7 separate regions of the Homo sapiens genome follow, and all the other regions are linked to region 1. Evidence: promoter capture Hi-C in 16 types of primary human blood cells and fetal thymus (Javierre and others, 2016). All regions are on one chromosome and are shown on one strand. The core of a region is centred on a gene start or on the middle of the fragment in contact, and the rest is flanking DNA. Distances in the headings are between cores, read along the strand shown.

Evidence for each region. The method cuts DNA at HindIII sites, captures the fragments that hold promoters and counts their contacts. A CHiCAGO score of 5 or more calls a contact.
Region 2: a contact is called between a fragment that was not itself captured here and the fragment with the promoter of LINC02332 in region 1, in 1 of 17 cell types (naive CD4 T cells). The highest score is 5.3, in naive CD4 T cells.
Region 3: a fragment that was not itself captured here is called in contact with the fragment with the promoter of LINC02332 in region 1 in 4 of 17 cell types (total B cells, naive B cells, monocytes and 1 more); the score reaches 11.0 in total B cells.
Region 4: a contact is called between a fragment that was not itself captured here and the fragment with the promoter of LINC02332 in region 1, in 5 of 17 cell types (M1 macrophages, M0 macrophages, total B cells and 2 more). The highest score is 8.6, in M1 macrophages.
Region 5: a contact is called between a fragment that was not itself captured here and the fragment with the promoter of LINC02332 in region 1, in 2 of 17 cell types (activated CD4 T cells and naive CD4 T cells). The highest score is 5.2, in activated CD4 T cells.
Region 6: a contact is called between a fragment that was not itself captured here and the fragment with the promoter of LINC02332 in region 1, in 4 of 17 cell types (total B cells, M1 macrophages, neutrophils and 1 more). The highest score is 7.3, in total B cells.
Region 7: a contact is called between a fragment that was not itself captured here and the fragment with the promoter of LINC02332 in region 1, in 2 of 17 cell types (naive CD4 T cells and total CD4 T cells). The highest score is 7.2, in naive CD4 T cells.

The regions. Positions count from the first base shown.
Region 1 is chr14:22,555,132-22,559,413 of GRCh38, reverse strand. It overlaps LINC02332 (long intergenic non-protein coding RNA 2332), which reads left to right and starts at 2,352. Exons shown (of 3, transcript NR_146543.1): 1 at 2,352-2,463; 2 at 2,561-2,622; 3 at 2,892-3,103. It overlaps LOC105370399 (a long non-coding RNA gene), which reads right to left and starts at 2,848. Exons shown (of 2, transcript XR_007064066.1): 1 at 1,848-2,848; 2 at 1-687. RefSeq lists enhancers at 1,747-1,956, 2,817-3,156, 3,207-3,306, 3,887-4,016 and a silencer at 2,657-2,706. The HindIII fragment of the contact is 9,123 bases long and covers 1-4,282 here.
Region 2 is chr14:22,096,005-22,100,286 of GRCh38, reverse strand. It overlaps TRA and TRDV1. Among named protein-coding and RNA genes, the nearest start is that of TRD-AS1, 380 kb to the left of the region's middle. The HindIII fragment of the contact is 2,359 bases long and covers 887-3,245 here.
Region 3 is chr14:22,996,359-23,000,640 of GRCh38, reverse strand. It overlaps C14orf93 (chromosome 14 open reading frame 93), which reads left to right. Exons shown (of 7, transcript NM_021944.4): 2 at 1,239-2,214. The coding sequence starts at 1,618. It overlaps AJUBA-DT (AJUBA divergent transcript), which reads right to left. Exons shown (of 3, transcript XR_007064074.1): 3 at 2,211-3,467. Among named protein-coding and RNA genes, the nearest start is that of C14orf93, 12 kb to the left of the region's middle. The HindIII fragment of the contact is 5,209 bases long and covers 1-4,282 here.
Region 4 is chr14:22,975,586-22,979,867 of GRCh38, reverse strand. It overlaps AJUBA (ajuba LIM protein), which reads left to right. Exons shown (of 8, transcript NM_032876.6): 2 at 1,423-1,524; 3 at 3,156-3,223; 4 at 3,350-3,412. LOC124903287 (a long non-coding RNA gene) reads right to left here and starts at 2,041. Exons shown (of 2, transcript XR_007064076.1): 1 at 1,767-2,041; 2 at 647-1,218. RefSeq lists an enhancer at 1,874-2,168. The HindIII fragment of the contact is 1,204 bases long and covers 1,367-2,570 here.
Region 5 is chr14:22,148,752-22,153,033 of GRCh38, reverse strand. It overlaps TRA. Among named protein-coding and RNA genes, the nearest start is that of TRD-AS1, 330 kb to the left of the region's middle. The HindIII fragment of the contact is 5,782 bases long and covers 1-4,282 here.
Region 6 is chr14:22,957,579-22,961,860 of GRCh38, reverse strand. No RefSeq gene overlaps it. Among named protein-coding and RNA genes, the nearest start is that of HAUS4, 2.6 kb to the right of the region's middle. RefSeq lists a silencer at 3,249-3,609 and enhancers at 3,409-3,987, 3,988-4,282. The HindIII fragment of the contact is 187 bases long and covers 2,273-2,459 here.
Region 7 is chr14:22,164,614-22,168,895 of GRCh38, reverse strand. LOC124903284 (a long non-coding RNA gene) reads left to right here. Exons shown (of 2, transcript XR_007064069.1): 2 at 38-2,046. It also overlaps TRA and TRAV30. Among named protein-coding and RNA genes, the nearest start is that of TRD-AS1, 320 kb to the left of the region's middle. The HindIII fragment of the contact is 7,199 bases long and covers 1-4,282 here.

The sequences.
Region 1 (4,282 bases), core at 1,103-3,602:
AGTTGATGTTTGCTTTGGTGTTGTACAGATGTAGGATATTGTTAATAAGGAGTCCAGATAAGGATGTCGTTCCACCCATTTCCCTTGGTAAATCACTGGAATAACTTGGGTCAGCAAGGATAAGGTGGACACCTTAGAGGTTGGTAAAAATAGAATCTTGCAGCCTCCACTGGAAAGAAGTCCCTTTTAAGGTTTACCTACTTTCCTCCCATCAAGGCTGGAAGCATGAAATGGAGACCAGGTGCTCCCCATTATGTAAACCATATTCCTTCATCTACCTAGACTCTCTTAGGTCCTGCCAGCCTTGTCTTCTTACACTTATATGATCTTCCTCTAATATTTTCCTTTTTTGTTGTTGTTGTTGCTAAATTTCATGTGGGTGGTTCGGGGAAAGGGTAGACTTGCACTCCTCCCCACTAATCAGTGGGATTTTAGGAAGGCTTTGAAAATGGGAAGGATCCTCCCCTCAGATCCTATCACCTTTGGAATGGGAACATGCCCACATTTCCAGAGCGAACAGACACTGGAGTCCTCTCTTCTCAAAGGTGGCGAACCGTCCTGGAGTGACGTGGGGTGTTCTGGCCTGCGAGGAGATGGCTGCCCGCAGAACCTGCCCGCTGGAGGGCGCTGCAGAGGTCTGGCTCCGTGCTTTCAGATGTGTTCGGCCAGGGGCTCCAGGGGCTCCTTCTGAAAGCAGAGAAGCCCCCAGAGGTTGAGAGGGGAGATAAGACGTGAGCCTTTTCAGCTGTGATGTGGTGAGGAGTCAGGGAGGCCGTGAGCACTGTGGGGCCAGAAGTGTTGGCTTCTGTCAGAAACTCGGCCCAGCCTGACCGCTGCCTCCTGGCCCTGTCATTTCCCCTCCATCACGCGCTTCCTTCTGGAAGCCGGAAGCAGGAGGTGGGAAGCTGCGGAGGTAGTGACAAAATCATGGTGTAACAAGAAGCTCCTAGGGCCGAAGTGACTGGAGAGGTGGCCACATACTATGAGAAACACCAGCGCACCGGCAGGGCCTGGGGAGTTCTGAGCTCTCCCGGGCTGTGTGAAGCCGCAGCCAGCCCACTTTTTTCTCAGTATGGCAGTGCCATCTGACCTGGCCCAGCCCATCTTGTTCGGGTCATGGTTCGTCTTCCTGGGCATTCTGATGCATTCCCACTTCATATTTGCACTGGGATTTCAGTTTACTAAGCATTCCACACCCATTACTGCTTTCAATCCCTTCAACAACACTGAGAATAGGTGGGCAGGTATTTTTATCTCTATGTGAATAATAACACATGGGGACTCAGAAAAATTAAAGGCCCCAGGAGAGAAGGCTAGTGAGGGGCAGTGACGCTTAGGGACAAACAACTGGTTCTCCTGCCTCCTGCCTGAGGACTCCTGCCTGAGGAGAATATAGTAACAAAAGCCTCTGTCTTGCAATTGCAGCCATTAACACATCTCTTTCATACCCACTACTCACTGGACTGTTAACTCCTTGAAGACAGAAACTCTGTGTGTGTGTGTGTGTGTGTGTGTGTGTGTATTTAATGGGAGCAGTACTTTCTTGAGGCATAATTACATGAAAATACACTAATGATGCATTTGATATATATATAGCCATCACCCAAGATAAAGATATGGAACATTTCCACCACCCCTGAAGGTTTCCTCGTGCCCCTTTTCAATCCATCCTTCTACCCCAGAGGCAAACAGTGCCCTAATTTCTATCACCTGTGATGCGTTTTGCCTGTTCTTGGACTTCATCTGTATGGAGTCATAGTTTGCACAGAGACTGAATCCCCAGAGCACGACACAGCCTGGCACATGGCAGGTATACAATGCCAAAGAAAGCCTGGTTCTTAAACTACCTGTGAGAGAGAGTTCGTCCCACCGGGAAACTGAGGCGGTGGGCGGTTAGTGACCTGCCAAAGGCACGAGTGTATGATGTGGTGGATCCCGGACTCCAGCCAGCCTAATTCCGAACCCAAGGCCTCCTCCGGGCCCCCAGCCCTCCCTGGGCACTTCCTCCAGGGCTCCGGGTGGAGCGGGTCTGACGATCCCGGACGAACAGCGCCCCCTGCTGCCGGCCCAGGCCCCAGGCCCTCCTCTCCTTTGGGGGGGGATGTGACAGGATGACACAGGCCTTGCGCCCAGCGCAGTGACGGGCACAGGGCAGGGACTTGTGGGATAAAAGTCACCTGCCCTTTTATTTTCCTCGGAAAAGAGCTTTTCCTAAACTTTGGGGGCTTTCTATCTCCAGAATTAACAGACAAAGGGAGAAGAGGTCTTTTTGGTGGAGCGCTGCTGCCCCCATGCGGGTGGATGGCGACACTACCGAAGAGCAGGCGATCAAGCCTGGTATTTTTGGGTTTCAGGTTCTGCGGCTCCCTGAGACCAGCAGATTCCTGGTCTCCGGGTCCCTGGGTCCCGGACGTGTCCATCAAGGCGTCCATTAGGGCCATCACCTAATGGACAAGCATCAGGGTAAGGGGGGAGGTGCTATTGGGGGGGGGTCCCTCAGAGAATCAGCCCTAGCTCTGTGTGGGGGCAAATACGGCCTCCCCACCTCCTTCCCTCCCAGGAGACACTGGCCTGAGCATAAGTCTCGAGGGTCTGCCCTGTACTAAGCAAGCGCTTAATCAGGTGAGATCAAGGTCTGATCTTGGCTGGTTTGGAGGGGCAGCAGAGGTGCGGTGAGGGAGGCGGCTCAGCGGTGGGGCCAGCAGCACCTCCCCAGCCTGCTTGCGGGCCCGGTGCAAGTCACCGAGGGGCCGGCAGCCCCTCCCAGCCTGGCATGTTGGCCTTGCTGCACCTGCGGTTGGGGGGTGGTGTAACGGCCCAGCCTGCTCCCCTCGGCACGTGGCCTGGGGCGATGCTATCTCTAACTCAGTATTTTAAACTCTTCTTTCCAGAGGATGTGGCTTCTGCGGGAGAGCTTCAAAGGGTGCCCTACTTGCCCCTCTTGGTAACCATGACGTCATGGAAATGGGAGGGGACCGCCCCAGCCCCCAAACACCTGGAGGGAAGTGGGAGACTTTTTCCACTTCCTGTTCTACTTGTGGCTACTGACTCAATGTCTGACCTGTTTATTAATTGCAAAATATAGCTCTATGTGTGCTACCCAGAGAGGCCTCAGGCCTGTGTGTCTCTGTGTGAAAGGAGGCCTGCACTCCCCACCCCTCGCCGCGTTGCCCAGGTGGCCTTGACACAGACGCAGGGCGCTGGTGGTCCTGCAGCCTTCCGGCAGCCAGAATGACAGCACTGGGTCTCCATGTGCTTGCTCCCCCAGACTCATCCCAGTCAGAAGCTCGTCTTCCCACACATGGCTCACGGAGGTAGATGGGTTTTAGAGTAGGACTCATGGAGAAACTGAGGCGAACCCACATAAAGTGACTGTTGGCTCTGGACCTCAGTGTGGTCACACAGTGAGGTCAGACTCCCAGGTACCCTGCGTGATTTACCACAGTCCCTGTCCTCCAGGCTTTGTTGGATAGATGTGTGCCTGCCTGGGGGCTGCCCTGAGCAAGGGGCCACCACTCAGGCTTTCCTTGTTCTGAAGTTCTTGACAAGTTACTTTAGCTCTTGGCAAAACTGTGAAGCATTGACTCACCTGACCACTTCCTCTACTAATCCCCACTTTCCTTTCTCCTGTACTCCCCACTCCTCACACTCAGCTCCCCCCACCCAGAGCCTAACTGCAGGAGTCATTCACTTATTCATTTAACGGCATCTGTTGTGTGCCAGGCACTGTTCTAGTTCCTGGGGACACATTGATGACAAGGGACATTCCCATCCCACAGAGCACACAGGCCAGGGGACTTCCACACTAGGATGGTACCTGATAATAAGGTGCTATAGGCCTGTCTGTATACGTGATCCCAGGGGAGTTGAATTTTATGTTTGGACCTAAAAAATAAGCAACTCCTTAAGACTCAGATGGCTGCCCCCAGTGAGGGTAGCAGCAGAGGGGTTGCTCTGTCAGAGCTGAAGACCTCACCAGGATGCTCCTGAAGCACGTGCTTGCATAGCCTGCCCTTTCTCCTGAGTGGCTGTGACTCCAGTTGCACTCAGAGGTCAAGTCTTCAAGTGAAGTTTCAGAGAGTCCTCTAGAATCTTAGGGCTGGGGCCACAAGAGCTCATTTAGTCCATTCTTCTGCCTTTGGGACTGGCCTGTGCTTAAGTCTTTTGGGAGAGTAGGGCATGTGTCCAGAGAAGTCCCTTCTACAACTGGCCTTAGTAACATGTTCCCTGCTGGGATGTCGGCCTGAGGTTGGGTCCAGGCTGGTAGAGCTGCAGCTGCAGC
Region 2 (4,282 bases), core at 817-3,316, 460 kb after region 1:
TTCGATAAAGGCTTCACAAAGTGGTGACTTTTGCGTAAAGACGTAGAGGAGTTCAGAGCTACACCATGAGGTTTTGTGGGGGTATAGCATTGCAGGCAGAGTGGGCAAAGGCCTTGATATGGAAGCCCGCTTGGAGTGTTTAAGGAATAGTATCTCATCTTTCCCTCTAGCCTCTTGTGCTTCATAGCACACTACTGTAGAAGAGACTCACTGATACATTCAGCACTCTTAAATACTTAGTCGGTGATTTCCTCCATCTGTTGATCCTGAGGCAATTTGTGCCTAGGTTTGTCATCTTGTCATCCTCACTGAGAAAGCCAATGCTGCTGCTTTGTGGCTATTTGCTTCTCCATAGTCCAAACTTTGATTTTTTAGGAGCCCTCTAAGATGTTACACCCTGGCTGACTTTAGTTAGAGATGCTTTTCAAAGTTAGGGAAAGCTGTGTCTCATTTCCCAAATATAAAAAATTGGAAGACTAAAACCTATCTCGTAGGGTGTATGATGCTTAAATTAGGTAATGAATTTGAAATGTATAAATAGTGCCTGACATATAGTATGGCCAATGAATACCAACTTTCTTTTTTCCTAGTAAAACCTGCTTTCCTTCAGTGTTCCGGTCTTTAGCCTGTTACTGCTTTTTCTTCTTCCACTGAACATGGTTCAATGATGGACATGTTAAAAGAAAAACTTTAGACGAATTAAATTTTACAGAGTTTAATTAAGCAAAGAACGATTAGAGATTCAGGCAGCCCCCCACCAGACCAGAACAGGTTCAGAGAGACTCTGTCACTGCCACATGGTCAAAGAATATTTATGGACAGAGAAAGTAAAGTGACTTATAGAAAAAGGAAGTAAGGTACAGAAACAGATGGATTGGTTAAAGCTTGGCATTTGCCTTATTTGAACATGTTTGAACAGTTGGCCACCTATGGCCGAAACTTAGGGATTGGTAGAGAGCAGACTGTAGCCTGTTTATGCATCCTGTTAGGTTACAGGGCCCTATGTATGGAGAAACCTTTGCCCTGAGTTTTAAATAAATAAGGAGGCAGCTTTAGGCTAAACTTAATTTAACAGAAGTTTCTAGAAAACCTACTTGGCCATCCCTTCCCCTGGAAGTAGTCACTATTTTTCATTATCCTCTTGTGGTCATTTCCTCCTGGCTACATTAATACAACTGGGGTGCTGAAAGGGCACAGGGGGATCACTCAATGGGGTTTCATTTTCATTTTCCTAATGAGTAATTATATTAAGTGCTTTTTGTGTATGCTTATTACTATTAGATATCATATTTCTGAAGTGTCTCTTCAAGTTTTGGCCATTTGTATTGTTTTCTCATTGCTTGTTGACTTGTACAAGTTTTTTATATATTCTGCATTTGAATCTTTTTCAGAAATACACCAATGCAAATATAATTTCCCAATCTGTGCACTGACTTTCCACCTTTTTAACAATGATTTTTGACAAAGGGTTTAAAATTAGACTTTCATGTTCATAGGAAGCTAGCTAGAGAGTTTTTTTGTTTGTTTGTTTGTTTGTTTGTTTTGTAAGTACTCTAAAAATACTTTTTCCTCTTTGGCTTCTGTTGATTTTGATGAGAATTCAGCAATCATTCTTAAAGACATGATATATCATGATATATCATGATATATCAACTTTCTCTGGCTGCTGGCAAGTTTTGCTTTGTTTTAGTCCACTTAGACATTCTGAATATGGACTTTCCTTCCACATCTGCAGTGCTTCTGGCAAAACCACAGTGGTGGGCTTAGAGAATTCCTTACTCAACTTTATGGCATTCTGTATAACATTGCTCCTGACCAAGGAGCTTGTTTTATAGAAAGTCAAGTGTACCAGTGAGTTGAGGTGCTTGCTGAAAACAGATTATGAAATGGGTAATGGAAGAGGTAGTTATAGAAACCAGCTACAATCATGTGACCATTTGTGGAAAAAAAGACTATACTGTTATAAACATTTCTTTTTCATTGTGATATGAAAATATTAAAATACATGTCAACCATTTTTTACTCTCCTCCCATTTGCCTATACATAATAGTGAAAGATATGTTAATAAGTTACTCTTATAGCTTGTTATATCTCAGAAGCTAAACTACAGGATATCAATGGGAGAGTGTGACTCAGCTAGAAGAGGAAAGAACATCACCCAAAGATGAATAAATACTTTGTATTCTCTTTAGGGGAGAGGGTTAGGGTATGTGTGGTTGAATGAAGAACAGTGGCATCATATTGGCAGGAAGTATGCTTTTTAAAATTGCCTTTATTTGAAAGCTAAGTGCTATTAAAAGAGGTGCATATGGATGTCAAGTTTACAAGGTGGGGGTATTGTGGTAACTTTGTACTGTCTCGTCGTAACTACCTGGAAATATATTTCTAAGAAAATCCTTCCCTATATTGTTCTCGATTAAGTTGAAAAAAATTGTGTAAGGCAGGTGCCAGGCTCCAGGCACTGTGGCAACTCACATATGTTGCTCTGATCTGCTAACTCATCTTATTGTTGATTCACAACTCCCCCACTCCCCCCAGATCTCCTCTTTCAGCTTCTCTTTTTCTTGGGCCAAGTACCCAGGGAGCATGATAGCAAATAACACCATTTCTTCTGAAGGTCACCAACACTATGAGATTGAAGGAGGTAAGAGACAGACAAGTTTTAGTTTGTCCTCGTGGGTTCCACCTGTCACCATGGGTTCCAAAATGTCTTTACAAATCACAGCTTTTGCATGCTCTTGTCCATGTTCAACTCTCCTTCCCAAATGTGAGTCTAGCTGACCTAGAGTAAATTCAGCAAACAGCTTTGCATAGGAGTAAGAGCAGATTATGGCATCGTATCACAGAAATCTGGCATGCTTATCACGACTTTATTTTACACATGAAAAACATGCCCAGCCACAGAATTTAACAAGTGAGACTGAATAGTTTGGATTAATGGGATAGAAATGTGGTATCAGGAGAATTCTAGGACACATGATCTAAGAAGTACTATTCTACTTGTGAAGCCAATAGGACTGAATGTCCTGATCCTCTTCAGCCTAGTACATAAAACTCAGTGTCAGATTTTGAAAAGATTACATTTTATTCCTGTTACAATTTCATAAAAACATAAACAACTAAGTAACTTCCGAGAGCCACCCGTTCCAGCAATTGCATGAGGTCTAATCCTTATAATTAATCTTATTCTACATCTTTCACGATGGTTCTGCTTCCCTGATTGTATCCTAACTGACATAAAGCTTAAGAGGAAAGGGCTAAGGAAATGATTTTTATGGTGATTCAAGATAACTAGACCCAGATTTCTGCTGTGAGCATCGTTAAGTGAGACTGCCACTTTAAGTTATTATGTGGAAGTCTTTCCAACTTTAGACAACTTTACACATTTTCTGTATGATCTATTTTAAGTAAAAATTGAAGTATTAGAAGAAAGTTGCTCTGAACACCTGTTTCCAAGTGAGATAGAAGGAGGTTTTACTTGGAATTAAATCATCTGATCCAGACCACAGATTAAATCCACAGACCACAGTCACTACCCTCTCTTGCCTGAGATCTGCAGGTGTGCATTTCAGATTGGCTCCTGTAGCAAAGGATGGGGAGTAGAGGGGTTCTCTTATTGAGCCCTAGGGTTTTTGTTTTGCTTTTACTATCACTTCAAACACTGTGAGTTCCCCAAGAGCACAAAAGTACTTTGCTGAATCTTCTAGCTGTAAGGCTGAAATGGTTAAGGCGACGGATTTCGCTGCTTTCTTGAAGTTGACAGAATAGCGACCACTTTTTGCATTCTGTTCATCAGAACCCTGGCGAATAAGGAAAATCATCTCTTTGCTGGGAAGTTGCTTGTACCAAAAAATATAATATGACCACCAACTTGTTTCATACAGGCAGTTCAGGGTGACTGCTTTCCTCACTGGCATGGATACTGATGACTGGGCTTGAGTAACCTTCTGGGCCACACTTGATCCTGTGGGAAAAATCAGAAAACAGAGCTGATCCTTTGATATAGTGAATAAAATATCGTAAGAGCTAGACTAATTTAGGACCCAGAGACAAACCAAACTAAAATCATAATATGCTCGCTTTTTTACAATTTCTCCTTTCCTCCTCAAGTCCATGAGAAATACCATATGCCTGTTTGGAATCCTTCCATCCTTAACATTTTTACTCACACTTGGAACCATCCATACCAGAGTAGCTGAAGGCCACAAATACACACAGCAGGCTGGAGAACAGCATGTGGCATGTAGCTCTTTGCACAAATGTGAGTTGTGCTGCCTGAAG
Region 3 (4,282 bases), core at 1,028-3,527, 440 kb before region 1:
GGGTTCAAGTGATTCTCCTGCCTCAACCTCCCGAGTAGCTGGGGTTACAGATGCCCGCCACTACGCCCGGTTAATTTTTGTATTTTTAGTAGAGACAGGGTTTCACCATGTTAGTCAGGCTGGTCTCAAACTCCTGACCTCAGGTGATCGGCCCACCTCAGCCTTCCACAGTGCTGGGATTACAAGCGTGAGCCACCATGCCCGGCTCCTCCTCTCCTTTTAATTGTGATGTTTTAATTTACAGGGTAAGAGAGAAATGCATCTCTCAGAGAAATTGTAAACATACTTAAGGTTTTGACATGGCACATCAGAAGGATTTTTTTTCTATCATCAAGTATTATTTAGAAAATTACAATATTTATTAAGTTCCCGGGAGTGTTCTCAGTGGTACAAATCAACTTCTTTACCCCTTTTTTTCTCTCCTGGAGTAGTTTAGTTGCTTAACTACAGTAATTTAAAAGAAAGGCAGTTTGGTTTATTACTGACATTCTGGTTTCTCCTTTAATGGGGGCTGGTCATGCAGGCAAAGTGACAGCATAGCTGTTCAAACATTCCTGTTGAATTTTGGATCCACCCTTAAGGAGCTTGAGAAATGAAGATAAGGGGCCCCACGGGTGATTTCTCTGGGCTCCTGGCTGGAAGATTCAGGACAGCTAGTTTCCATTACAGAGGCTCATGGCCCAGGTACACGACTATGTGGGAAAGGGGGCTGTGCAGCCCTGGGTTACCCCAGCTCAATTCCCTGATCTTTTCATTTCATTTCCCTGCCCTCATCCCCAAAGCATTAATGATATAATATAACAGTGAGAAGTTGGTGACATGCTGAGGGCTGCAGTGATGGATGTATTCCTTATTTAGGAGTGTTACTCTGAATGCATTTGTATGAAAATTACAGAGAGGGTAGAATCATGATTGTCATGATTGTTAATGTCAACAAAAAGTGGTATCAGTTAAAAAAAAATACAACACTACATTGAAAGTAGCAATAACTGGATTCTGCTGTTATTCCTCTGACCTTGAAAAAGACATATAACTTCTCCACATGTCTCTTCTCTGGACCTGGAGTAATATGTTTCCTAGTGCTGTTGAGTAGATGAGGTAACTTATGTGAAGTGTTCTGAACACCTTAAGGAACAATGTCAAAGCAATGAAATGCAGTACCATTATTACAGTAAAGATGGTGAGGAGGAGGAGGAGACAGATCTACATTTTCTTCCTTAATCTTCTAATCTTTCCAGATGCCGGAAGGTCCTTCTGAATCCCTTCCCTGTTCCTTAGGTTGCACTAGTCGGGGGTTCCATGCTGGGGGGCAGAAGGAATGCTCTCTACCGTCTGAAACCGTTCATCAGGAAGGCCTTGATTTGTGATGTGCTAGGAGAGCACAGGATCTGCAAATAGAAGGCACCTGTCTCCCTTCTGCAGGCCGAGGAGAGGCCGCCATGGACTGTGTGCTTCTTCATGGCTTGTTTACTCTTCTTTCACAGACCCTACAGCTTGGGGCCTGGGCTCCTCTGACCATCCTCATTGAGAAAGGAAAGTGAGTCCAGAGAAGTTGATGCTTCCTACCTGTTGGAGCGGCCCAGCAGTGTAAGCGTGGTTGTTACTGCCCCATCCGCCATGTCCTTCAGTGCCACCATTCTCTTCTCCCCTCCCAGTGGCAGCGAGGCCAGATGCTGCTGCTGCGCCTGTAAGAGTGAGACTAATGGAGGCAACACAGGCTCCCAGGGTGGGAATCCTCCTCCCAGCACCCCCATCACAGTGACTGGACATGGCTTGGCTGTTCAGAGCTCAGAGCAGCTCCTGCATGTTATCTACCAGCGGGTCGATAAGGCAGTGGGTTTGGCTGAAGCTGCTCTGGGTCTTGCCAGGGCCAACAATGAGTTGTTAAAACGTCTCCAGGAGGAAGTGGGTGACCTGAGGCAAGGGAAAGTGTCCATCCCTGATGAAGATGGGGAAAGCCGGGCACATAGTTCCCCACCTGAGGAGCCTGGGCCTCTCAAGGAAAGTCCCGGGGAAGCCTTTAAGGCTCTGTCTGCCGTGGAAGAGGAGTGTGACAGCGTGGGCAGCGGCGTGCAGGTGGTGATTGAGGAGCTGCGGCAGCTGGGAGCAGCCTCAGTGGGGCCTGGGCCTTTGGGCTTCCCAGCAACTCAGAGGGACATGCGGCTCCCAGGGTGCACGCTGGCTGCCAGCGAGGCGGCCCCCCTGCTCAATCCTGTGAGTATGGCAGCAGAGGGCTATTCCTCCTAGGTGCTTTTCCTGGCTTTTCACTCTTTTTCCTTTCTGTTCTTTTCTTTCCATCTTTAAACCTTTTGTTTGTATTTGTGATAAAGCAAAACAGTACCACGTTTCCTTTTCCTTCAGGGATAGTCAGCTCTATTTTCTTCCTGAACCATCAGCTTCTTTGGCAGAAGGTCATTTTTTGCTGTGTGTAGTGATGGGGTGCCCTTCCCTCTCTCTCAGTAGCTCCGCATGGCACCTTCTCTTCCACAGCTGTCTCGGCTGCTCCATGGACTCTGCCTCTCCTGGCGAGGATGCCTGCCGTGCACAGACGGCTCATTCATATTTTATCGCAGGCCCTCTGCTTGCCAAGAGGAATTCAGTACAAAGAGAGATGGGAATGTACAGGGGAGAGAGGCAGAGGTGGAGAGAGGAGGAAAAAGTGAGAGGACAAAGATAAAGATAATAGAAGACAAGTATAGGGAGGGAAAGAGACAAGTAGAAATGAAGGGCTGAGGGAGGAGAAAAAGTGAAAAAAGGGAGCACAGAAGAAAGGTGAATCTATGTGGAAAGAGAATCTACACCACGGGAGAGAGACTATGAGGTAAGGCGAGGGGGAGGTAGAGGAAAGGAAATAAAATGGGAAATGAGAAAAAGAAATGGCCAACTGATTGTTAACAGTAAGAGAATAACATATAGGGAGAAAGAGGGAAGAAAAGAAGGAAGCAAGCAAGCATATTTTGTGAGCAGGAAAAGACATAGATGTACATTGTGCTATTTCAGTTTCTTTACTGCTTAAGGGCCATATGAGCAGGAAAATCCTGGCTGAGTAGAGTAAGAACTGCAGAATGTCACACATGGAAGTATGAAAAGGAGATGGAGCAACTATAGAGATCTTAGAGATAGGAAAATAACAGATGTGGTGCCACTTGAGAGACGGTTGGAGTTCTGTCAGCTCTCCACCTTATTCTCCGTCTGTCCTCTCTTTTTCTCCTCCCCCCACAACAAGACATAGACACCCAGTAAAGAGTAAAGGAGCAGAACACATGGAGTAGATGGGAGGGATGAAACTCCCAGCCCATCTGCTGGATCTGAGAAATGAATACATAAACCCCTCTCTCCCCCTCCAGTGTAACACAGCAACTGGTCATTGCTCTCCTGAAGGCACAGCCATATGGGTAATGGCCACTGCTGCTCACCCCAGTCTGTGGCTGGTCAGGACTCTCCGTGGTTCCAGCTCAAGGGAGGACCTGGAAGGTGGGAGGCAGAAAGGTACCAGGCTAGGCATTGCCCTGAGCTGTGGGTTCTTTGAGGCAGGAAAGGCTTCCAAGCCGACAGGATGGAATTAGATTTCACAGCGCAGAAAGCAGCTCACAGGTCTATAAATCTCAGCCTCCTCCCCCGCATCTTTCTGTGTGTGTGTGTGTGTGTGTGTGTGTGCGTGTGCGTGTGTGTCCCCACTTTCAGTATTTTGTTTTCTTGACTGCAGAAATCCCCCCTCCTTTCTTCCTCCCTCTCTCCCTTGCTCCCTTCTTCCTTTCCCGGCTCTGTATGTCCTTGAGTGAGGGCACAGGCAGTCAGGTAGATGTCAGGGGCTATGACAGTCGAATGTGGCCGGGGCAGGATCAAGGTGAGGGCATGGACTGACTCTGGGAATGGAGGATAGGTGAGGGGAGCTGTTGCTGCCAGTCTCTCTAGGGATTTCTGACTTTATGTCTTCCTCCTTTGCTCATTTGTCTTTTATGTCTCCTCTTTATTGCTGTTACTGTTTTATTTTCTTACTCCTTCTCTTGCTTGGTTTCTTTCTTGTCATCACTTCTTCACCCAGTCCTTTCAGACAAAACACTTATCTAGCTCCATTTCTTATATCCAAGAGCTATCCATAAATGACTATTCACCAACAGTGTCAGAAACATGCTTTCTCCTTGTGAGCAGCCCTATGGTAACAACCCAACATGAGAGGCCCTGTACACACAAGAAATATTTGCCCAACACTCATAGGAGTCCCAGAGAAACAAGCCATTGACCATTAAAGACTGTGCTAGAGTTCCCCTTCTTTCCACTT
Region 4 (4,282 bases), core at 719-3,218, 420 kb before region 1:
AGTAAAGAAGTCTTTTTGGCTGAACCATCAGAGCCAAAAGGAAGAAAGGAACTCAGAGAAACTGCAATAAAATGGCAGGAAGAACATAGGTATAGATATGCTGGGTTAGAGGAGGTGAGGCCAACGTGCCTGAGCAGTTTCGTTTGCTTTTCCCATAACGTCCAAGGTTTCCTAAAGAATGGCTCCGACAGGACCCCCTGGCATGGCAATCTTGGGGCAGATCTTCACTTCCATGAGGAAGCCACATTTTGAATTCAGAGATGGGGGCCCCTTCTCCTTGGGAGTCAGGTTGCCTCCTTTGACAGAACCCCTACATACCCCTTGTGCCGCTAGCCCCAGCTTGACTGTACCCTCCTCCTGCCCCTAGTAGGGGCCCTCTTCCTTGGCTTCAGCCTTGCCCAGCTGCCAGAGGGTGGGAGCAGGACAGGCCTGGGCCCATCAGTTGCTGCAGCTGCTGCACAGGCTCCCAAGCCCCTGGGCAAAGACTGGGATGGGCCCCAACAGGCAGGGAGTGTGGCAGCGTGCCGAGGGGGAGAGGTGGGGCAGGCCCGTTGGGATCTGCTCCCCAAAGACAGGCCCTAGCCCTCACTCATGGGCCTGGAATTGGGGAGTGGAGGGAGGGAAGAACACACCCAGGAAAGGCAAGTCCCAGAGCCAGGTGTATATATCTTAGTGGGGGATTTTGGGGAATAGCAAGCAGTTCAGTTCTGTATTCTTCCCATGATAGAAGGTGACTAGGAGGCATCAGGGGCTCTGCTACTCTCCCTGCTTTCCTGTTCAACCCTGGTTCCTGGAACACACCCTGCATTCTCAGCAGCCACCTCCCCACAGGAATCATGCTCACATGGTCCCCTCTGCACGGAGCCCTCTGCCAAGCCAGATCCTTTTCTCCATCCTTGGAAGTCTGCAGTGGAGAGAAATCATTCTATAACTGAACAGCTCGTTTGACTGATGGGAAACTGAAGTCCCAGAGACGATTTCTGGGCCTAGCCTGCTTTCTCTAGAAAGTATTTTCAAGTCTGCTGCTGAGCACCTGTGGACTGGCATCTTTGACCGTTCATCCTACACACTGCAACAGAGATCATACCTTGCCTGTGTAGTCTTTTCTCCCCAACAGAAACTAAGCATCTGAATGCCAGGGACCATATCTTCGACTTTCTCCAGGTTTCCTTAGGTAGTGGTGCTGTGTTAAGCACAAAACAGATGCTCAGAAAATATCTGTTGAGTAATTAAATAAACAAGAATGGATCTGCTCAGCCAAGATCTTGCTGCATCTCATTACTCGTTATCTTCTCTACTCAGAAGGGAGCCCATCAAAGGGAGACTGTGACCCCTGGCACATCAGGAAAGGGCAGTCAGGAAAGCTTGGGAATCCCTGGTTTTGACCTGGGGGAGTAGAGTGTGACACTTTTCTCTTCTCAGGCACCTGTATCAAGTGCAACAAAGGCATCTATGGGCAGAGCAATGCCTGCCAGGCCCTGGACAGCCTCTACCACACCCAGTGCTTTGTTTGCTGCTCTTGTGGTGAGTGTAGCCCCAATACTCAAGCACTCCCCTCCCCTGCCCACATACACACTTACAAGTGCTATGGGGAACAGGAGGAGAGCTTGTGCCTCTTCATTTGCTCACAGAGCAGCTGTTGGATCCCCACCAAGTGTCTGGAGGTCCGCAGCTGCTCTGCCTCTCTTGCTTCCCTGTCTGTCCTCTACTTGGCTCTCCCTCCGCCTGGTGGGTCCCCTTTCTGGAGTCCCTCCTTCCTTCCTCACCTCTGTTTCTCCCTCTCGTGCTTCCCTGCTTGCCCATCCTGGACTTGCCTGGCCCTCCAGCTTCTTGGTGGGGCTTGGTCTTGGGCAGCCAAGTTGCCTGGGGCGACAGTGAAAGACTGGAATGTGGGGAGGGTGGGGGCAGGCTGGGGGAGTGGGGAGCTGTTTGGGGCGGAGAGGGGGGTTTTCTCTTGGCTGGTCAGAGTTCAGCCACCTCACTGGAGTGCAGGCCACCGGGCCATGCCAAGCTGATGACATCACGCTCCAGGAATGCCTGCCACTGTTAGCTCAGGAGGCCCACTTGGAAAGGGGGGATGCTCCCAGCGGCCTTAACTGCCCCCCTCCCCTCCCTCATTACCCCCTCCTTACTGCTTACCCATTCTGATTCCTTTGCTAAACCTTTAATCTCCTATCTCTGCCTGTCTGACTTCAGCACTCAGCTTTTCTCACTCCCCCAGTTTCTGCCTGGTTCTCTTTAGGCTCATCTGTCTGTCTATCCTTCTGTTTACAGGGCCTCTTCTGGCTATATCTCTTTCCCTATCTTTCCTCCCCTGTGTCTCATGAGCTTCTAAGTCAGCTTTCCTAACCCACTGGACAGAGTTGGAAGTAGGGATTTTGAGGGGAAGAAGGCAAAGGTGGGAAAATTGCTCATGCTCCACCTGTTCTCACTCCTTCCCTATCCCTGATAATGTAGACACCTGGGAGCAGTTCCTGGGGGTTGGTCACATGGGGAATTGTCCTGCCTTGTCTGCTGGAAGAAGATCCTGGGTTGTCTCTTACCCCAGTGACTCTGGGTCCCTCTAAGCTTAGGGAAGCAGCCTTATACAAACAGGAGAGGGGACCTGCTTTGCTTCCAAACAAAGCACTTTGTCCTTCTGCAGTAACTCCAGTCCTGACCTCCATGGAGTCTGTCCCTGGAAGGAGACAGGCATTTGAGAGCAGGATAGATATGCTCAGGCAAAGAGGCTTCTAGGTTGAAGGGTCCCAGAGGGAAAGGCCTGTTAACAATGTGGTTCTCTCTATGCAAATCATATAGCACCTTATTAAGAGCTCACGTATTCCAGCACGTAGTTGGCTTTACTCTCCCAGGTGGCTTCCTATGCACTGGAGAGGAAGGCAGTTTGTTTAGGGGAGGGGCCCTAGAAAACTGTTAAGGAGGCAGGAGCTGGAGGAGCAGCAAGCAGAGGAGAGGGGAAGTTGGCTGGAATGAAGCCAAAGCAAATTGGAATTGCATCAGATGGAATTTTTGTGCGGGGAAGGACAGACAGCAGTTAGGAGGAAAAGCACAAAGTCCAGGTTTAAATATATTATGCAGCAGCGGGGAGCAGTGACCCCAGAAGTCTTGCACCTGGGCTGTGGGATAGGTTCCAGCCCCTTCTCTATTGTTTCTAGGGCGAACTTTGCGTTGCAAGGCTTTCTACAGTGTCAATGGCTCTGTGTACTGTGAGGAAGATTATCTGGTGAGTAAGGGTCACCTGGACCTGGAATTGGTTTCCATACTGACCCCCTTCTTGGTGGCCCATTGGAGTACCACCCATCATTCTCAGTTTGATAACAGCCTCCGTTCGTCTTGTCTTTTACTTTAGTTTTCAGGGTTTCAGGAGGCAGCTGAGAAATGCTGTGTCTGTGGTCACTTGATTTTGGAGAAGGTAAGTAAAGTGCTTTCAGCTGAGAAGTCTCACTGTGAGGCTGAGGAGCGGGATCAGGGACTAAATGGATATTGAGAGAAGGTTGGGGAAAGAAGCCTGTCACCAGATGAATCACTTTCATCCCATTCCTCCCCAGAGCAACTGTTTACAGTGGCTTCCCTCTGCCTATGGGATCAAGTCTGGGCTCAAAAGCCTGTCAACCCAGGCTTCTATGACCTAGCCCCTCCCTAACTCTGCAGGCACAGCCAGGCCTTCCAGCCTGAGCTAGGAGTGTGGGGTCCTGAGTCTTTTTTTTTTTTTTTTTTTTGAGACAGAGTCTCGCTCTGACAAAGTGGAATGATCTCGGCTCACTGCAACCTCCGCCTCCCAGGTTCAAGTGATTCTAGTGCCTCAGCCTCCCAAGTAGCTAGGACTACAGGCATGCGCCACCATGCCTGGCTAATTTTTGTATGTTTAGTAGATAAAAGGTTTTGCCATGTTGGCCAGGCTGGTCTCGAATTCCTGGCCTCAAGTGATCCTCCTGCCTCAGCCTCCCAAAGTGCTAGATTATAGGCGTGAGCCACCATGCCCAGCCTGGGGTCCTGAGTCGTCTTCTTTTTTTTTTTTTTGAGATGGAGTCTCACTCTGTTGCCCAGGCTGGAGTCCAGTGGTGCGATCTCGGCTTACTGCAAGCTCCGCCTCCTGGTTCACGCCATTCTCCTGCCTAGCTGGGACTACAGGCGCCCGCCACATGCCCGGCTAATTTTTTGGTGTGTTTTTAGTAGAGACGGGGTTTCACTGTGTTAGCCAGTATGGTCTCGATCTCCTGACCTTGTGATCCGCCCACCTCGGCCTCCCAAAGTGCTGGGATTACAGGCGTAAGCCGCCGCG
Region 5 (4,282 bases), core at 1,307-3,806, 410 kb after region 1:
TGGAGAGTGTGCAATTTCTCTCAGAAATTACTGCTCTGAATGGAGGTTGTAGGTCAGAGGATTCTTCAACTTATAGCCCCTGGAGAATGATGGCTATGGGAGCAAGTCTATGACTGTCTATCACCATGAGAGTGAGTTCCTTGGAAGCAGGGACTGTGTCCTTTCCATATTGACAAAGCAGGAGCATCGCTGTCTTGGACAAGCCCTCATTTTAACATTCACCTTAATCAAAAACTTCCTAAGTCCAAAGGCCATCAGCCTAATGGCTATGGTCAGCATGACCATAAACCACAAATAACATCTCCAACCAGAAACATTCCAAACTCCTCCCCAACCAGAGGCATGCTAGCTCTGAGATAACCCTGCTCTGACTGGGAAGGTGCCAGCCCCAAGATAATCCCCCTCCTGCCAAAAAGACATCAGCCTCAAGATAACCTCCCCTCCTCCCAGAGAGATTCCAAACCCCGCCATAAACTTCTCCTCCACACATAAACATTCCAAGATTGTGATAAACCCCCTCACCCTAAAACCAATATATACTCTTAGTCTGCAAGAGAAAGTGCTCCTGACCAAAAAATAAAAATAAAAATAAAATAAATAAATAAATAAATAAATAAATCAGCCAGAAGCCCCTCTCATGTTTTATCTAAAGTAAACCTGTCTTTAACTGCCAAGCTGTGTTTTGTGTTTCTTTCCTCTTTCTTTAACTCTTACACATATTCCTGGCTCAAAACATATATCAGGACACAAATGAGGTTTTGAGTGTACCTTGTGGAAGCCGTGGTTCCCACTTTCAATTTTTTAATTTGTAAGTCCATTATGCTAGGCAGTTACCAAAACATTGCTAATCTTCACAATAATACTGTAAATTAAGTATTTATTCTTACTTCTGCAGTACTTATCAGGAAATTGATGCTCATGAAGTTAATATAATATTCCCAAATTTACACAGCCAATAAGGGACAGAGCCTTTAGAAACCCTTGCTCTTTTCATAGTGTCATGGTGCTTTTCAGGAAGAGACATGTAAGCCCAGTGATTAGGGAAAGACCCTGGGCCATTTTGTTGAGGAAGTAAAACAGAATCTCCTATCAACCCATAACACCTTCCCACAAAGGTAGAAGAGAAAGAAAACAGTTTTGGCCAGGTGTAGTGGCTCACGTCTGTAATCCCAGGACTTTGGGGGGCCAAGGCAGACAGATAGGTTGAGCTCAGGAGTTAGAGACCAGCCTGGGCAACATGGTGAAGCCCCATCTATATAAAAATACAAAAAAATTAGCTGAGCATGATGGCATGCACCTGTGGTCCCAGCTACTTGGGAAGCTGAAACAGGAGGATTGCTTGAGCCTGGGAGGCACAGGTTGTAATGAGCCCTGATTATGCCACTGCATTCCAGTCTGGGTGACAGAGTGAGACTCTGTCTCAAAAAAAAAAAAAAAAAAACAGTTTTATTGAATAAGCATTAAACCAGAATGTGATGCATCTCACAGGCAATCCACTAAAGATACTACAAGGAAATAAAGAAATCTTATCCTTTTATATAGCCGAGCAGATGCAACTGATTGTTTACAGTTTCTCAAGATAAACAATAACTAGTCCGCAAGAAAGAGGACTTGACAGCATCATTTTTCAAACATAGTTCATCCTCAATTTACCTGGTAATTGAGGTAGCCACCTGTTTCGTAATTGCCTTCATGCAAAGGAAACATTTCTCATATCTTTATGACAGGAGGTTGGTTTGCAACTGGGAGCAAAGTACCAGCTGAAGTTAGGCACCTATTCTCCACTAAAACTAGATTAGGGCACTACCTCCCTTCGTGATTACATTTTGAAAAAAATGCTCTCAGGTTCTTGAGAAAGACAGTCCTGGATTGTAAAACTGGCAAGGGATTTATTTAGCTTTTAAAAAGATTTACCTACATTTCAAAGGGATAGAAAACTCACAATTACAAGTTTTCTAAAGTAGGTGCTCTAACGAAAGGGAGGGGAGAGTGTCTTTCTCTTTTTGCATCAGAGATAATTAAAATTGTTTTCTTATTTTTATTTGTATTTGCCTTTAAAATTTTCAGAATGAAGGAGTTTAATGTGATAAAGTTTTTAGAGGAGGCTTTTAAAATGGATTACTGGGTAGAGTAAGGTTAAGAAAATAAGAAAAATAACCTTTGGAATATAAAGTTAAGACAAATGTAAGACTATAGTTATTATTTGCATGGAAATTGTCTGTGGTTAAAAGACTTTAGGATGAAATCTGGATTCCATAATCTTCCATGAGTATAAGAAATTGCTATGGAAATTTAATAACGAGTCCTCTCTAAATGAAAGGTGAAGTTTTTTTCCTTTATAAAAAATATAGGAATATTAATACTTTATGAAACAGATATGATCAACATAAATGGAGTCCCCATGTTTGTATAAACAAAGTAATTTGTTTATATATCTTTTCCTGCCTTTACACATGGAAACAAGAAATCATAAAGCCATTTTATGTCAATCTTACTATAGTTAGAATTATGTTTAGCTGCAGCAACAGAAAACTCAACCAAATAATGGTTTATTAAAAATTTTCATGCAAAATTAAATCTGGGGGCTGGATTTGACTTGGCATCTAAAAGACTACCAGGCATGGGATAAGGAAAGGGGATTAGTTATGTGTTTTCCTTTACGGTAAAGTTATCTCTTCCATGTTTTAAAAAGAGAAAAGGAGGGATAGAGAGATGTGTACTTGTATCAGGAGAGAAAAAAACATTATGGGAAGGCCCTATCCAACTTCTGGTCCTATCTCACTGGTCAGAACTGTTCTATATGTATATGGCAATCTCTTGCTGCAAGAGAGGGTAAAATGTAGTGTTGAGCTTTTTTAAAGCTGGACATATTGTTGCCCAAATCAAAATTGAGGGTATTGTTAATAAGGAGGCAGAAAAGAATTGTGATTAGGTTGGCAGCTTGCAGTGTCTGCCTTCCTGACTCCTCTGGTGAGGACTCAGAGTATTAGGCAGAGAATAACTCATTCCCCCTTAAGTAGTCAGTGAAAATTCCACAGTAGGGGTGACATTTACATACGGCCATCAATAACAATATTATTTTAAGGACATTTGTTGAGTATACATGTTATGCCTGGAACTTGAGACAATTTTATGTATTTTATCTCATTTAATTCATAGCAACTCAGCAAGATAGGTGTTCTTACTAACATTAATTTATAAGGAAATGTAGGTGAGGATAAATAATTGCCCAGGGACACAGAGCTAGAAAATTGCAAAAACGAGATTTTAATTTAAGTTATTTTGATTTCAAAACTCAGAAACTCATGTGCATTTTGCTATATCATCTTGCCTTACAGAACAAATACAACTGCTTCAAGTATGAAAATGGGCCAGTGGAGGGCTTGCTATGTGGAGGAAACTGCCAACTTCTTTCTTCTTCAGGCTTGAAAACTTGAAGTTATTGACATTTGCCATTCAAAGACTCTTCCCCAAGCCAGTCCTGTGAACATACAGGCCATTGTAGTTAATGTTTGGTCACTTTCAGAACCACCAACTAGGATGTTGCTTTGAAACCACAGTTGGATGCTACTGAGGTGTACTATCGGTATCTTTCTTCCAAAAAGGTAGTAACTTTCTTCTAATTTTTACAATACTTCTGCATTTTACTGCAGTGTAAGAGTCTGGAAAGATAGCAGCTTCATCATCTCTGGAGTACTACAAGAAAGCTGGGAAACCATCCATTTCTGCCCCATTGTACTGAACATTCCTGGGTGTGGTCTTCTGGAAAACGGAATGACCAATCTGAACCATGAAGTATTCTGAAATTCTCCATGTTGATCCTTTGGATTCAATTAGCATGAGAGCTGAAGGCGTTCCCATTTAAATTAACAGAAAATCCTAAAGAGATGGAAAATCCCTGATGCCAACTATGAAAGGAAGAATTAATGAAAGAAGGAAGAAAGAGAGAATGAGGGGGTGAGAAAGGTGGAAGGAGGGAGAAAAACTCATTTCAGGTTGGGAAAGAATCCCTAGCTCCCTTCCCTGGTGCCTTCTGCTTTGTTTCTACACAGGGGTGGAACACTCAGAAACAGTCTGTCTGATAGCTTCCATTTGTCCCTCTATATCGACTCTCTTTGCTACTGCCTACCCCGGGGAGTTGCAGGCCCATATCGTTAATGATCCTAATAGCAGGCTGCATTTCCAGATATTTGTGTTATAGCAGAGGGGTCTTGTCCTCCAGTGTGTGTGGAAAATGTTTTCTGGAAAGGCAGCAGAAATGGTTCCATGAGGGGCTGAGGTT
Region 6 (4,282 bases), core at 1,117-3,616, 400 kb before region 1:
ATCATTAAAGAGCATTTAAGAAGTGAATGATTGTATTTTGCATATGGCATAACAGAAGGTGAGATGAACAACACTAATGAAAGGACAGGCCTATAAAAGCCAAGCATTCCATGGAATAAACAAAGCGATGTAAGGTATTTGTAGTGTGGTTGTGGCCGAAAATTCGTTTTTCAACAAATAAGTGCCTCACTGGAACTCGGAACCAACAATTAAGTATGGAGATAGGTACCCTGGGGCTGTTAGAAGCACCTCCTTAAATATAAACCCAAACAAATTAAGGTTTTGTTTTTGTTTTTTGTTTTTGTTTTTTTGAGACAGAGTCTTGCTCTGTTGCCCAGGCTGGAGTGCAATGGCACGATCTCGGCTCACTGCAACCTCTGCCTCCCAGGTCCAAGCGATTCTCTTGCCTCAGTCTCCTGAGTAGCTGGGATTACAGGGCACCTGCCACCACTCCCGGCTAATTTTTGTATTTTTAGTAGAGACAGAGTTTCACCATGTTGGTCAGGCTGGTCTCGAACTGCTGACCTCGTGATCCGCCCACCTCGGCCTCCCAAAGTGCTGGGATTACAGGCGTGAGCCACCGCACCCGGCCCAAATTAAGGTTTTAAATAGGATTTCATATTTATCAGCAATAAAATGACATTAACTTAAAAATGAATTGGTCGGGCGTGGTAGCTCATGCCTGTAATCCCAGCACTTTGGGAGACCAAGGTGGGAGGATCACTGGAGCCCAAGAGTTCGAGACCAGCCTGGGCAACATAGTGAGACCCCAACATAGAGAGTACATCTTTATTTGATTCAATTTACATAAGATTCTAGAAAGTCCAAACTATTCTATAGTGACAGAAAACAGAGTTGATGGTTGAGTAGGGCAGGGAGAAGCTAGAGAAAAGAATTACGTACGGGCACAGGTAAACTTTTAGAGTGTGATACATATGTTCACTATCTTGATCTTGGTGATGGTTTCACACATATATAGTTATATCAAAATGTATTGAATTGTACACTTTAAATACTGTGTGCCAAAATACCTCAATGAAGCTGTTTTTTAAAATTCTGGCAAAAAAGAGGGAAAGAGAAGGACAGAGGGAGAGAGAGAGAGAGAATATGAATGAATTCTAGGTCCTTTCTTACAATTCTTTCTTGTTCAAGGACACCGGATGGTGTCTGATTATAAACTTTTTTTCCCAGCACTTCACTGCACTCTTTTTTTTTTTTTTTTTTTTTTTGAGATGGAGTCTCTCTCTGTCGCCCAGGCTGGAGTGCAGTGGTGCAATCTCCGCTCACTGCAAGCTCCGCCTCCTGGGTTGACGCCATTCTCCTGGCTTAGCCTCCTGAGTAGCTGGGATTACAGGCACCCGCCACCACGCCCAGCTGATTTTTTGTATTTTTAGTAGAGACGGGGTTTCACCGTGTTAGCCAAGATGGTCTTGATTTCCTGACCTCGTGATCTGCCTGCCTCGGCCTCCCAAAGTGCTGGGATTACAGGCTTGAGCCACCGCACCCGGCCTTTGCTGCATTTTTAACTGCCAGGATGGACTATAGGCTTAACTTTCCAGTCTTACGTAGAGCTGGCCTATAAAATCCTTCACTTCGGTTGGTCCTGTCTCCTCTTGGACCTAGAATGCAGTTTATACTCCCCTTGTCTCTGCTTCCATTTGCTGGGATGTTTCCTTCATTCTAAATGATCCAAATTTTCTCTATCCTTTCAGGCCCAATGAAAGTAAGATTTATTTCATCTATTCTATCCTATCTATTTCTGCAGAAAGAATTCTGTACCTTCTTCATGTTTCTCTAGTATTTATAATCTAAACTGCTCTTTTGACACCAGTTTGCTGCCTTGTATTATTTGCTTTTCATGTGCATACGTCTTATCTTTTAGATTATGAACATCTTTGGGGCAAGGACTGGGCCATATTTAGCTTTGTGTCTCTCCCAAGGCACTTAATAGGTGCATAATAAGTGTCAATTTAAAACACCTCACTTTTAGTCTTTCCAATGCACTTTCTCAGCCATTATCTCATTTGATCATTACATCGACACTATGAGATTGGAGGAGCTAGAAATAAGTTATTTCCTCCTTTTGACAGATAAGGACCCTGAAGCCCAAGGTCACACAACTTGTAGAGACAGAGATGGAACAGATAATTGCACATGAAGGTCTGATCCAATTCAAGGCTTCTTTGCATCACTATCCCCTCTGTCCTCCTACCTGAAGACAGCTTGCTCCATCCTTCACCCCCTCATTCCCCAAAGTACTTTAGCCAAAGCTTCGTAGTACCATATTAGAGAACTTGACAAATCTGAGAGACAAAATTTCAGTAGATTTCCGATCAGCTCTGAGTCACCAAAGCATACTTGCTATTTTGTTCCAAGTGCCGTTTGCTATGGACATTATGCCTGATATTTAACTTTGCTGTGCTTCAGAGCTGAGGAAGCATAAATGATTTTTAAAAGCTTCAGAAAATGACAGCAGTTCAATATTAAGCATGAAAGGTGGCAGCTGATGAGCTGACCAAGAATATAAAATTTCTTCACTGGACCACACCATTCCTCTATGCATATTAATAGAATTCTGTAGCTGGTACTGAAGGAAAAGGCGAAACTCCCCATCTCTCAGCACACCTAACGGAGATTCCTTTCCTATCACTCCAGGCTATCACCTTATCTAATGTAAAAGATGTGATATACTTGGCACAGTTTACTTAGTATTGCATATTTTCTTTTTGTATTTTTTTTTTGTAGAGATGGGGATCGTCTCGCCATGTGGCCCAGGCTGGTCTCGAACTCCTGGGCTCAAGTGATCCTCCTGCCTCGGCCTCCCAAAGTGCTGGGTCAGGCATGAGCCACTGCACCCCGCCTAAACATTTTCTTTATTTTTAATTTTTATTTATTTTTAATTTTTTTCGAGACCGAGTCTCACTCTGTTGCCCAGGCTGGAGTGCAGTGGCACGATCTCAGGTCACTGCAACCTCCGCCTCCTGGGTTCAAGCGATTCTCCTGCCTCAGCCTCTGGAGCTAATTTTTTGTATTTTTAGTAGAGACGGGGGTCTCACCAGGTTGGCCAGCCTGGTCTCAAACTCCTGACTTCACGTGATCCGCCCGCCTCAGCCTCCCAAAGTGCTGGGATTACAGGCGTGAGCCACCATGCCCAGCTCTTTATTTTTTTAAATTTATATTTTTGAAATAATTCACCGAAGGTGTGGGTGGGAGTGAGGGTTGGGTTTAAGGTTAAGACAGGTGGGCCGGGCGCGGTGGCTCATGCCTGTAATCCCAGCACTTTGGGAGGCCGAGGCGGGCGGATCACGAGGTCAGGAGACTGAGACCATCCTGGCCAACGTGGTGAAACCCCGTCTCTACTAAAAATACAAAAAAAATTACCTGGGCGTGGTGGCGCCCGCCTGTAGTCCCAGCTACTCAGGAGGCTGAGGCAGGAGAATCGCTTGAACCCGGGAGGTGAAGGTTGCAGAGATCGCGCCACTGCACTCCAGCCTGGCAACAGAGCAAGACTCCGTCTGGAAAAAAAAAAAAAAAAAGATTAAGACAGGTGAAAGATATTTGGCCGGGCAGATTGCTTGAGGTCAGGAGTGCGAGACCATCCTGGCCAATATTGTGAAACTCTGTCTCTACTAAAAATATAAAAATTAGCCAGGCGTGGTGGCTCGTGCGGGTAATCCCAGCTACTCAGGAGGCTAGGGCAGGAGAATCGCTTGAACCTGGGAGGTGGAGGTTGCGGTGAGCCGAGATCGTGCCACTGCGCTCCAGCCTGGGCAACAAGTGCGAAACTCCGTACCCCCAAGAAAACAAACAAACAAACAAACAAAACAGGCGAATGAGGAATGCGCGCTAATAGGGAGTCTGTGGTGGGAATTCGAGAGGAAGGTGACCCTGAGGAAGCACTGTATGGTGCCCGGCATGGGCTGGGCTGGGCTGGGCTGGGCTGGGCGGCAGCGCCTCAGAGCCAGGCCTTAGTGAGGAGACTCGCAGGACGCGGCTTGGGTGGCAGGTCTGGGAAGGTTCCTTCCGAGAGCTATTGGGACAGGTTTAGACCCCCCAAATGGCGACCTCGAACTTAACCCTTTGTGCCTCAGTTCTCCCCCTCTGTAAAATGAGTATAATGGTGACTTTCTCACAGGACGCTTTAAGAACTAAACGAGGCCTGGCCGAGGGCGGTAGCTCACGCCTGTAATCCCAGCACTTTGGGAGGCCGAGGCGGGTGGATCACGAGGTCAGGAGATCCAGATCATCCTGGCTAACACGGTGAAACCCCGTCTCTACTAAA
Region 7 (4,282 bases), core at 836-3,335, 390 kb after region 1:
ATATTTTGTCATGACCCTTCTGTTCTCCACCCTTCAGTAATATCATCAGGAAGACGGGTGCTTCACCATGCTTCTGCCTGTACCAGTGTACAGAATATAAAGCCTTGGAGGAACTGCAGTTGATGACAGCATCTTCCCCTTCTCGGAGGATCACGGCTTGAGGACTCTGCACTGGTTGTTGGCTTCTCACCCCTGATCAGAAAGACAATCGAATGAGATGCTCAATCTCGTGAAGGGAAGGGTGATTTTCTCTCTTCCTTCCTTATTTAAAACATTAAGCATCACCACATAATTACGGTACATTTTCCTCACTTCTTAGGTCTGGTTCTTAAAAGGGCCCTTCCCAAGACAGAAAGCTATTGTCATTAAGATGCTGTCATATCACAACCTCTCCCAGACTGAATCGTGTACTCACAGGTCAACTGCCACAACAAGGTGCCTGAAAGCACTTTCAGGAGAGTCTCCATCCTTGGCCTGCCAGAATATCCAGTCAGCTTCTGAATGGGCTTCCTTAACAGGAGTTGCTTTGAACTCAGAATGAGGCCTGTTGCAATTGCTTCCAGGATATTGCAACTTTGGGGGCAACCAATCAGAGACACATCACAACAGTTTAACTGCAGAGAACTAAATGCATCTACCTAGAATACTTTTTAAACAGCTCTCCCCTGTGGCCAGACTGAGGAATGTTGATTAAACTGTGGATTTTGGCTTTTCTTGAGTAAGTTTTCATACAGGATAGGTTTTTTTCTTGCTATAAGAAGGGCCTATCAATATACTGTGTTACAGAAAGAATTACTCCAGAATTAAGAGAAAAAAGAAGTATCAAGGGAAAATGTATTATATGTATTTTACTACATATATATATTTTATATACATGCCCACACATGGATATAATATATAAGTATGTGAACTCATAGTAATCTTTCAAACAGTGACATTTCATTATATTATTTACTTGTGCAGATTTCTTTCACTGCTCATCATTGTCTTCAAGATAATGTAATGTACAAACATCTTATAATGGCTTTTAATTATTTTCACAAAGTGGTTTCTGCTTATTGCTTTAGTTTTATATTTACTGACATACATTTTGAGTTGTATGCTCTGGCCATCCTGAATTAGTTTAATGTCATTCTCTTAACCTAAATATTGACTTCATGTCTTTGTACATTCTATTTATCTTTTTCTGTAATACCCTGTCTCTGACTCCATTTTTGGCTAACTGTTTTACAGATCTTAACCTAGATACTACTTCCCGTAGGCAGCTTTCCCTTACATTTAAGTTTCCAAATTAAATGCCACTGTTAGGTGGTTATATTCTACGCTTCTCCTATGATAGCTTTTATTATACTATATTGTAATACACTCTGCAATATTACATGCTCCCTGAAGGCAGAAACAATGCCTTATTCTTCTCATTTGCATCTATTGTTTTCAAGTCTAAGACACATATTAGGTATCAAATGAATAACCTTATTAAGTGAAATCTCAAGTAAATAGAAAACATATTTGGTAACCTCACAAATATTATGGTTACTCATTTATAAAACTGAGAATTAAGGTACAACTGCTTTGCAGTGGTGGTTTGAACATTTTATGACATACATAATTTTAATTATAGCATAATTCTGGCTTTTAGTCCTCAGGTTCATTGTGTTCTGTGTCACCTTGTACATGCTGTTTCTATCTTTAAGATCACTTTTACTACCTTCTCTGTCTTTCAACTTGATTGACTCCTACTAAATCTTTAGGTCTCAGCATAGGCAAGACATACTACAGGCTGCCCCTGACTCACCTCTAAGGCTAAGATGGGGGTGGGACTTTCCATATGCCTTCATACCTCCCTTTGCTTTCCCAAGGTTGGCCTCATTTCACTTTACTCTGTCTGATTAGCTGCCTACATAACTAACTAGACTACAATTTAGTCAAAGAAGATATGTATTTTTCCATAGCTCTTTTTTTCCCAGCATGTAACATTTATGCAGAACTCAGCAGGCAACCAGTTAACAATTGCTAATTGATAAAATGAATAAAACTTGAGACCGATGTTAGCTGGAAATCATTGCCCTTGCATTACAGATGAAGGTCCTGATATAAAATGTTAAGAAGTTGATTCACTTGCTCAAGAAGACACAACACACTTATGGCTAGAACAATGCTAGAAAGTATGTTTTCCCAATGCTGTTTCCCAAATATATTAGATAAGAAAAGAACGTAAATAGATAACTGTGGGAATGAATGAAATGTGAAAGTTGAAGCAGTCTGAAGAGCTTGAACAAAAAGACAGGGATGAGATTGAATGTAGTATTCCTTTTTCTGGTATGATTCTACGTTGCTTTAGAAGGATAAAGACAGCATTAATATATTCCCTCCCCATTATGCAAGACATGAAATGGGGTAAATGTAACAGCAGTTAGAGTGAAAAATGTCCATTGTAACAGAACTTTATAATGGGTTTCAGTAATTTATAAATCATGTTAAATATATCTGAAAAGAAGAAAAGCTGATTTATTGTCTTAAGGTATTTGAAATAGTTTTGTTAAGAGCAGGGATATATAGTAACTGGACTGATTATTCAGCTGAATTTCCACATTTTTTGAAACTGAAATGAAATGATTCATCGTAGCTACATTTCTCTACACCCTGCTAGAAGACAGCAACAACTCTCGCGTGTCTGCCCTTTTGCTGGGATCTGTGGCTACAGCTTTGAATTTGGGAACAGGCTCTGGATGCCTGTGAGCAAAGAGTATGCACAGCAGACTCTCTGCTCAGAGTAGCTGAGGCTCTAGAGTAGGAGCCCGAGATGTGCATGGAATACCCTAAGTATGAAGAGTGATGCTTAATATTCCTTCCTGCTTTTCATTCTCATTTACGTGCATTACGAAAAGGATCTTGGAATTTTTCCTGCCTATACCAATGTAAGCCATAAAAAGAACAGAAAAAATACTGCATGTGATATTGGTGCTCCTGGATATGGAGGGATAATAAATCTAATTCACACTGAGTTAGCTTTACATCCATGTTCAGGAATATAGAATTAAATATGAGAGAATTGATCAACCTACAGATTTTACCTTATAGTTAAACCAACCCCACAAGGATCCCTAGATGAACAAAGCTAAGCCAACCTATATATCACCCCTATTCTGATAAAAAATGTCTTCAGCATTCCTGAAATCACTGTTCCTGAAGTCACTGTTCAGATTATGCCATAAGTAATGGGATTTACAGAGGCTTCCGCATGCTTCTTGGGAAGTATCCTGAATTTCTGTATCTTCTCTCTGTAAAGATCTTCAGCTTCAGAAAATCAGCCTGTGAGGAACAAGCTCTAATCATTTATCTACAAATACAATATACATATAAAACCATAATTTCAGCTTTTAATTCTCTATGAGTGATAATCTCACTCTTCTATAGGTCAATGATGAAGACATGTATGATAAGAATTTTAAAGATTGCTAGCTGTTCAAAAGCATGACTTGTTAATAGCTTCTGTAGGAAGGGCCCATACTTGGTGGTTTGGGGCATGAGTGACCATGAACTCTCTTTTCTCACAAAGTTAGTGATACTGAACAAATCCCTGAACTCCCACAGCCTGTTTTCTCTACTAAAATATGGATTATTCTAATAGTTGTCTTAAATAATTATTAGAAGAATTAATGTAATACATGCAAAACAGGTGGAATAATAGAAGTTCAACATAATCTAGACATTATTACCATTACACAACAGTGTGCTCTAAGTGATAAAATTCTTTCTCATGGAGCTACAAGTAACAATTCTGATACCACTATACATGTTTAATGGAATTGGACTATGATGTAAATGAATAGTGGGTGGTAATGACAAAAATTCTTTGCTTGACCAAACTTTAGTCAGGCTTTTGAAGTTTCTCCTAAGCTCATCTGTACATTTTCTTGTAAAATGTAGTTTTAACAAGAATCCTTCTAAGTCAGTTTAGCAAGAACCACACCCTCCCCTGCTGCCCTCGTCATCCTCCGCTTGATATCTGATTACACTCCATATCCAACTGGGCTCCTCATCCTCTATCATCCCCCAGGGGATTGATGTCTGATCACCCTGACCTGTCTTCTGCAAGGATCCTGTTTGGCTGGTCTAGCCAGACTATCCCTTGGTTCTAATGTTTCCTCTTAGTAATTTCCTATCCACTGACCCCTAATCTGCCCCTTGGCTAGAAATCTCCACTTGTCTATGCTGTATTCGGAGTTGAATCCAATTCTTCTCCCTCACTGCAAAATCCTGTTGCAGTGGTCTCTGTACC